2 separate regions of the Homo sapiens genome follow, and region 1 is linked to region 2. The links are contacts of gene promoters, found by promoter capture Hi-C in human tissues and cell types (Jung and others, 2019). All regions are on one chromosome and are shown on one strand. The core of a region is centred on a gene start or on the middle of the fragment in contact, and the rest is flanking DNA. Distances in the headings are between cores, read along the strand shown. Region 1 overlaps LOC105369896 (a long non-coding RNA gene). Region 2 holds the start of NUDT4 (nudix hydrolase 4).

The links. Contacts are between HindIII fragments. The study calls those that stand out against the background at their distance.
Region 1: a fragment that was not itself captured here is called in contact with the fragment with the promoter of NUDT4 in region 2 in 1 of the 25 tissues and cell types used here (dorsolateral prefrontal cortex).

The regions. Positions count from the first base shown.
Region 1 is chr12:91,572,392-91,576,860 of GRCh38, forward strand. All of the region lies in intron 1 of LOC105369896 (a long non-coding RNA gene), which reads right to left. Among named protein-coding and RNA genes, the nearest start is that of LINC02823, 250 kb to the left of the region's middle. The HindIII fragment of the contact is 3,773 bases long and covers 1,203-4,469 here.
Region 2 is chr12:93,376,650-93,380,840 of GRCh38, forward strand. It overlaps NUDT4 (nudix hydrolase 4), which reads left to right and starts at 1,276. Exons shown (of 5, transcript NM_019094.6): 1 at 1,276-1,772. The coding sequence starts at 1,674. It overlaps LOC643339 (a long non-coding RNA gene), which reads right to left and starts at 1,087. Exons shown (of 5, transcript NR_040096.1): 1 at 788-1,087. RefSeq lists an enhancer at 872-1,811 and silencers at 1,048-1,387, 1,608-1,907. The HindIII fragment of the contact is 9,866 bases long and covers 1-4,191 here.

The DNA.
Region 1 (4,469 bases), core at 1,839-4,338, 1.8 Mb before region 2:
TGTTGTTTTGTAATGTACAGTTTTTCCTCTGCATTTGGGACACAGACCGCTCTATTTCATTTCTCATTTCTCCCCCACCCCAACCCAGAGTTCTCTTTATAAGGATATTTGGTGTATGTGTGTTGGGGGGTGTTGTTTTGTGTACTAGTTTATTGCAAAAAAACCCATCTATGCTTTCAAATTCCTTCTTCCAAGTGTTGAGATATTTTTTTTTTAAACCAAAACTCAGAAAGACTCATGGTGAGTTAGGGGATAAGAAAAAGAGAGTACCTCAAAATGTTTACTCACCATGTTTTTGTCTATCATAGCCTTCCGTTTTGCTGGACTATAATAAAATTGGTAAAGAACTTTGGCATCCATAAATGTCCTTTTGTTGGGAGAAGGACTCCTATCATACACCTACTGGCTAAAGCTCAGTTTGATTTAACCAATGCTTACTGAACTTTTCCTGTTTGTAATATACTTTGCATAACACAAAGTTGAAGAAAAATAAGATGCTTGTCCTAGAGGAATTTGCAGTCTAGTGAAGAAGAAAGACGAGAACATAAATAACAGTAACGCAAAACCTGAAATGATTAATTGGCTCACAAGAGTCATAAACAAAGAGTTCTGACTGTACTGAGAAGGCAATTAATTTAAATCAGGTAATTGAAGAATACTTCAGACCAGCATTGAGTCATAGTCTACCAGAAAGAGAATATTAACAACTCTCTGGACATTTCTTCTGCTCTATGGGTAATTTGGAGCTGGGGTACAGAGGATTATTCTGGTTCTTCGACCCCTGCATAACAGCATTTGTGTGCTTTGGAGAGTCCAGAGCTTAAAGGTAGTTTTATGCTCAAGGATTCTTCTCATACATCTTCACTCACTGTTAGAGGTCCCTCTCGCTCCCACCTCACCCCATCCATCAGTCATTATCTGCTATTCTAAAGCTTATGCATTTCAGAATCTAGGTCAGTCCTTCTCTTGCCATCTTGTCTTTTGGTGGTGGTGGTAGTATGTGTTTGTTTCTCTCTGTATTTTTTGTGTGTGTGTTTCCATTAGCTCTTTTTTTCCCCACCTGAAAAATTGATTTCAAATTTTGAAGAAGTTGGTGCTTGGCATTTTCTGCTAACAACACTTTGGTCAGAAGCCTTTGGAAAATGAAATGTTCACATGACAGAAAAGGAACATGAGATTTCCTTTAAAAATATGAAAACCTTAAATGTATATTACAAAGTGAAAGAAGCCAATCTGAAAAGTCTACATACTGTATGATCCCAGCTCTGTGACATTCTGGAAAGACAAAACTATGGAGACAATAAAAAAAAAAAAAAAGAAAAAAAAATCAGTGCTTGCAGAGGTTAGGGTGGGAGGATGCAATGAATACACAGAGTATAGACAATGTTTAGGGCTGTGAGACTATTCTATATAACACTACAAAGATAGAAACGTCATTATACATTTGTCCAAACCCATAAAATATGCACCAAGCTTGAACCCTAATGTAAACTATGGACTTTGGGTGATCATGATGTATTAATGCAGGCTTACTAATTGTAGCAAATGTAATAATACTCTGGTGGGGGATGCTGATGGTTCGGGAGGCTGTAGCGGAAAGGGGTACAAGGGAACTCTGTACTTTCTACTTAATTTTGCTATGAAACTAAAACTTCTCTAAAAAATAAAGTCTGTTCAAGAAGCTAAAAAATTAGTATGCACTGTTCTCTCTGCCCCACTTCTCACAAATTAGTGATTGCTCTCACACTCACCTAGTCACAGTACTATCTTCTGATTGTGTATGAGTCTCTGTTGTCTGTCAACCTGGGTAAGTGAAATTGTCTTTCACTTGGCAGAACATAAGTGGTAAGGAAAATCTTTGACTATCTTGGTCCACATGAAAAAAAAAAAAGATTCACTTGATTTTGCTTCCTACAATAAGTATTGTGCCTTGATGTATACTTCAAAGAGACATGGCACAGATAGAGAAAGGGCAAAAAGAAAGAAAAAAAAATCAATATGGGAAAATATCATTTCTGATTGCTGTGAACCATTTCAATGTTCCCTATTTGTTTTATCAATCAAAGAAAGACTCTGATGGTATACAGGCTTATTCAGCACCATAGAAAATGTGTGTTTATGATGTCCAGAGAAGACAGTGTGTCCTGGCCAGTCACCATGGTAACCTCTAAAAGCAAAGATTATGTCTGATTAGGTTGCCCTTCTCAGGAGGAACTGACCAGAAAAAATCTTTTGAAAAGTTTAAAATGAAAGGTAGGAAGATACTGGTACTAATTTTGCACAGCTGTTCTCCTCCCTGACTCCCTTAATAAGAGTGACTCACGCTATTTTCTAGAACCTTTTTTCAATCCCATAGAGAGCTTCCAAAGACATCCTCCCCTTGTTGAAAATGTACCTCAGCTCAGTCCTTTGTGGTTATTGTCACCACAGCCCATAATCAGAATTCCTGATACCTTTGTGATTGCCTGTAAAGAGATTAATGAATGTTCCGAAAGAAACAATTAAGGAAATAAAAGAAGTGAAACATAATCTGCTCTGAAAAAGTTGTGAAAGGAAGCAAAAGCTCAATCATGCCTCTCCTTCAGTGATTTGGAAGGCGAGCAAACGCCAGCAAGGTGGAAATATTGAAGAAGCCGGAAGACTACTTAATGTCATAGTTAATTTGTGGAAGTTATTAGTGCTCTTTGTATTAAAAATAATCCTTTTTGAGCAAGATTTGTGTTTTTCTCAAGCTTCTACAGCTAATACTAGTGCCTTTAAAGCAGAGGGTATATCAGCTATTCTGCTTTCGATTTCATTTTTTACACAATGTAATAAGTGAAATTATTGGGGAGTTACTAACATAAAGAGAAGTATCAAGTAGAGGAAATGATAGGTGTACTCCTACTTAACTGAGATGGTATATTCTTACTGGACTGATAGAATATTCTAGACTGGCAATATAATTTATGTAAAGTCTGCAAAATATTTGCAAACTTTTTGGTGTTTAATAGACCTAAAAAATGGGTGGCATTAAATGTCACTGTAATCATTTACATGGTAAATGTGATTATTTATTCAATTTATTGCATTAAAAAATCTGCATTTGAGCAAAAGATAAAAGCTAAGAGTCATTCTTTTCTCTCTTTTTATTGAAAGTAAATAGCTTTTTAAATTATACATGATTATTATAATAAATCTGTGGGAAATGTGGTAATATATATACAATTAAAACTGCACAACCCCTTTGCCTACAGGTTGATTTCCACGTGTACATGAAAATGTGTTAGATGATTCTCATTGAAGCAAAAGATACAAAGCTATATAAATGCCCTCTGTGGGCACCAGGTTTAAAAATTATGATGTATCCATATGATGTAACACAATGTTGTTTTCAAAAAGAGTGAGAACCTGCTATATAGGTCAATAAGGAATATTATCCAAATATCTTAAATGATGATGCAGCAAATACATAATGTCTATGATGTGTCAGATATATTCTAAATGCTTTTTGTGTATCAAATAATTTGATCCTCACGACAACTCCATTAAGTAAATACCCTTATAAGTCCCATATTATAGAAGAGTAAAGAGAAGCACAGAAAAGTTAGGTAACCTGCCCAAGGTAACACAGCTAGCAAAGGGTAATGACAGGTTTTGATCCCACAGTCTGACTTCAGAGTCTGCTGAGTAATACTGTAAAGCAACTGTCAGAACAGTGCGTGTAATATATTGCTAGTGTATGATTAAAAGAATATACATATACATACACACATACATATAAATACATACATATATATACAGTTGATCCTCATTATTCATGGGTTCTTCTACTTGCTAAGATATATTTGTATTAATAACTCCAAAATCAATACTTGCAGAACTTTCTAGGTTAAAGAAGGCAATGCTCTGCCCTCTTATTTCAGCTTCCATACTATAAACAAGTGTCCTTTTCATGGTCTATTTAGTGCCAAATGTTTCTCATTTTTGTGCTTTTTTGCTGGTGATTTTACTGTTTAAAATTTCCCCCAAGCATAGTGTTGAAGTGCTGTCTACTGTTCCTAAGCACAAGAAGACTGTAATGTGCCTTATGGTGAAAATATATGTGATAAACTTTGTTTGGGTATGAGCTATAGTGGCTGTGAGTTTAATGTTAATGAATCATAAATAAGATGCCTTCATACACAAAAACACACAAAACAAAGTTACGTATAGATCAGATGATGACACTGTTGTGACCAAAGGCTTTCAGAAACCTAACTCTGTATTTCCCATAGGAGCAATGGTACAGTAGTGACTAATTCAGTGTTCACAAAGACTATAGAACACACCTACTGAAAACAAACATTTTATATTTTTATATATATATATATATGTATGTATATATTGCCTAGCAAAATCTTACAAAAATGATGAACTATAAACTGTGGGTGTCTTTGAGAGGGAAATTAAGGTACTGGAGTTCAGAAATGGAAGATTTACCTTTCACC
Region 2 (4,191 bases), core at 26-2,525:
CTGCAGAAATCCCAGTTCCCTTTGCCTTGAAAGCTCTTGGTCAATTTAGCTCCTCCTCCTTCAGCCCTCAGCTCCTGCCTTGCTGCCCCAATAATCTTTTTCTGACTGCAGATCTGGTCAAATCTTTGTCTGAAACCTTAGAGCCCATTACATTTGTAGTTTTACGTGTACACGTGTGATCATTTAATATTTGACGGTGTGCTCTCAGGTGCCTACGCTCCTGGAGAGGCAGGGGCTGACTGGTTTTGTTAGATGCCAGTGCCTGACACACAATAGGCCCTCAAGGGGTGAAAAACCAACCAACCAAGTCAGGACCCAAGCAACCTGGGCCTCTGTGGAAGGGCAGAATGGCCTGAGTTTGGGTTTCTCGAGCTACCTTAAGATCAGGCCTCCTGGCTCCTATCTTAGCCCTTCTAACACTCTGAAGTGTAGAGGTTGTTTGTTCCAAGTCCCCAAGGTACTGTAAGCTCCCAGATAGCAGAAATCCCATTATATTTTAGTGCTGTGGCCCCAGCATCCAGCTGCGCTGTTACTTAGCATGAGATCCACATGAAAACCATTTCGCAACTATTAGCCATTGCCAGTATTAATACTTTCCGGAAGGTGGCACAAAGTGGGGGATGTTATAGACAGCTTCAAAGAAACGTTTAAGCTAGAGTTGACTCTTTAAATAATACAAGCCATCCCCAACCAAAGATTAAAAATTTAAATACAAAAAAAAAAAAAGGAAATTTGCCTACCCCCCATTTGTGAAAACAAAGAAAAAAAAAACAGTTAACGTCTTAACTTTTCTAGGCCTTCACTCTCGCCTCTCCCCGCGCTACAAGGGCGAATTCTGGACGTATCTACACAGTCACCGCGGAGTCTGCAATCGCCGCGACGTCCCCTGGCATTTCTTGGCCAGGCTGCAACTTTGGTGACGGTGTATGTAGTTACATCCCCTGTAGTGCAGCTGGTATTTAGGGTCCTCATTGGCAAAGTTGAGGGTATAAGCAGGGAGGGAGGGGACCTTGGCTTCTTTCCATTCACTGGCATGTTTTCGGGGCACGGTCATCCCACGCTGGGCTCCAGCGCCAGTCCCAAGGCCTCGCCGAACTCCAGCCCGGGAGTGCGCGCGGCCCCGCCCACCGGGCGGCCGAGGTCCCGCCCCTACCTCCCCCGCCACACCTACCCACCCACCCCATTGCAATGGTCTCTGCACGCAGGCGCAGTGGCGCGCGGGGGAGGCGGGGCGCATGTGGGCTTCATTTAAACAGAGCAGAGGGGGCGGCGCGCGGTCGCCGCGGTGCTGCTGCTCAGTGGGAGCGGGTCTTCGCAACTGTCTCCGCGTGGCGCGCGCCTCTAGCCGCCCTTCCCCTGGCGGCTACGGCCGGAGGGAGCGGAGGCGAGCGGGAGTCGGGCTCCATGGAGAGCGGCGGACAACTGGGCAGAGGCGGAGCTTTCATCTCGGCACCCTGGTTCCAGTGACCCGCGCTAGCGTCCCGTCCCGCCCGCGTCGGAGCGGCCGCCGGCCCCGGGACTGACCGGCCTCGCCGCACCTCCCGCACCGACTAGCGCTCCCGGGCGCTCCTGCGCCCGACTCGCCCTCGCCCCCACTCCCCGGCGGGGTGGCGGCGGCCGGGCCCCCACGGCGGCGGCCGGAGCAGCAGCAGCAGCAGCAGGAGCCCGCCTCTATGATGAAGTTCAAGCCCAACCAGACGCGGACCTACGACCGCGAGGGCTTCAAGAAGCGGGCGGCGTGCCTGTGCTTCCGGAGCGAGCAGGAGGACGAGGTAGGGCGCCCGGCGCCGCACGCTGCCCTCCGGGGCGCCGGGGTCTAGGGCCCGGGTGCTTCCCCTCGCTCCCCGCCCCTGCGCAGGCTGCGGGGCTGGGAGGGATTAGCCCCCTTCCTCCCTCCCTCCTTTCCTCCCTCACTCCTTTCCTCCCTCACTTCTTCCTTCCTTTCTCTGGGCTGATAGATGAGACAAAGGGGGCTCGCCCAGCCCCAGTTTCTCCATCTGGGCACTCGAGAAGGCGCCTGGTCCCCGGGAAGGTCCCGGGCCGCGTAAGTCTCGCCTAGCGGGAGTCACCATCTTAACGTGCGAATTGAGTTGAAAGCCGGATAAACCTCGAGTGCTCAGCGAGAGGAGGGTGGAAATGGCGTGAGTGTTGCAGCAGAGCCCTTGTGCCTCTTTTACATATTTTCCTTCCATGTTACAGCCGTTTGCGGTCTCGGATTCGATCTAAGCATGTTTGTGGAGTAACAGACAGTCCTCGTGCTTGGAATTGAGTCTAGTCTTGGCAATTCTTGTGGGTCCATGAACCCGCAAGCTGTTGGCATAATTATGCCTCATTTTTAAAACGGCCTTCCCTTCTTAAAGTTTTCTGACTGCAGAAAAATGGTTAGTGAAAAATGTGGAATAATGCCAAAAGGGAGACGATGGACTAGAGATGGGCAAAGCTGCCATTTTCAGACAGTAATCTCCAGCTCTCAGCTTATGTATAAAGGGTTCTTTGCTGTCTGGCTTGACATCTGGAAAGGAGTAGCCTTTCTCGTTCTCAGAGCAGTCGTTCTTGGATAATTTACCCATCTGCATTGGGCTGAGAATGAGACCCTTGGGGTTTCCCTGGAGAGCGATTTTTACTTAATTCAGTAGTATTTATTTAAAATGGCTAACTGTTGAAGTTTGCTTAGGGCAATAGTAGCCTTTTGGTATTGCCACTCTTAAGATAAATTACATAGGTGAAAAAAATTAACATTCTGAGTTCTGCTTTCATAACCAACCGTGTATAAAATACTAGGCTAAGGCTGGAGATGGGAATTTAATGGCTTCCTTACTGCTAGTCCCTGTAGTTGTGATGAATATGACACAGAATACACTCAGTGGCTTAGTTCTTGTTATGTTAACGAAAAGTTCTCGAAATTTGCCCTTCAAACCCTTGTTTTGCCTTTATTTTTTTTTGAAAAGAAACCAAGCCCTTTAAATGGGTTGCTCTGTGCTCACTCATAACCTTTACGTATTAGACTTGAATCCCAAACGAGTGTGCAGAGAAATACGGCCCCAGCCTTTGAGATGGGTCTGCTTAGGAGAGCTAGAAACTGCAAAGGGAAAGGTTATTAACTTTTACAAAATGAACAAGTCAACAAGCATTAAGTGTGTTCTGTAAAAAAGATAAAGCCTTAGCGGAAAGGGGCCATGTTGAGGCAAAGTAGTAAACTTTAAATATAAAAGAAATGATAGCCAAAAGGGATCAAGATAGATCAAGGATCTTGTCTGGTTTCCTCAATATTGTGTAATGATATTCTTAATTGAGTGCTTACAATGTGCCAGGCGCTGCCAGAAGAAAACTTGTTATACATTTAATCCTTTTAACACTGGGAGGTAGTGAAGTTACTCCCATTTTATAGGTGAGGAGACAGTTGCAGAGCATAAGTACCTTCCCAAATGACACAATTAGGAAGTGGTAGAGTCAGGATTCAGGGTCCAGTCCTTACTCCTGATGTTGGGCTCTGTTTGTTGAGTGAGTGAGATTTTTGTGAGGCTAAGTTTGGAAGCCTATCTGAAAGTGGTGACTGAAGTGTTGCCATAATGTGAACTTGGAATTCAGGCTTTGTAAAAATACTAGACTCTAGGGGAAAATATGAGTGATGGAAATTGAAATGATGATCTCTATTGTGCTTATGGTAAAGCAAAGACTGATAGAAGCTTTAGGAATTACTTTAGCAATAAAAATAAATGATTATTTTTATGCTTGGATATTATTTCTACTGAAATAAATACTAAATTCATAGCCTCTAGTTGAGTCAAGAGACCCGTGTCATTAGGTAAGGTGAAGTAGGGAGCAAGTTTTGGAGAATGTATTAGAAAAATCCATTGTATAAAACTTTGTAAATCTGATAACCTGTAGGTTGAGAATTGAAGAGAGTGAGTCATCTTGTTAGAGGATATGATCTGAGGGAAGACTCTAGAATTCTCCTTAAGTGAAATGCACAGCCAATTTTAACATCTGGTTTAGCTCTTCAGAATTTTCATTTCTGTGATTGTGTGTAGTTGAGGCTTTATCTATTACATGATTATTACAGAATAAACTCTGTTAGCTTTCCTGGAGATTCTATTGTTTCTCTATGAATTTGCCTTCACTCTGTTGAAATTGCATTGCCAGACTTCCCAGGACAGTCTAGAAAACCAGCTTGAGCCCACCTCTCTAGTT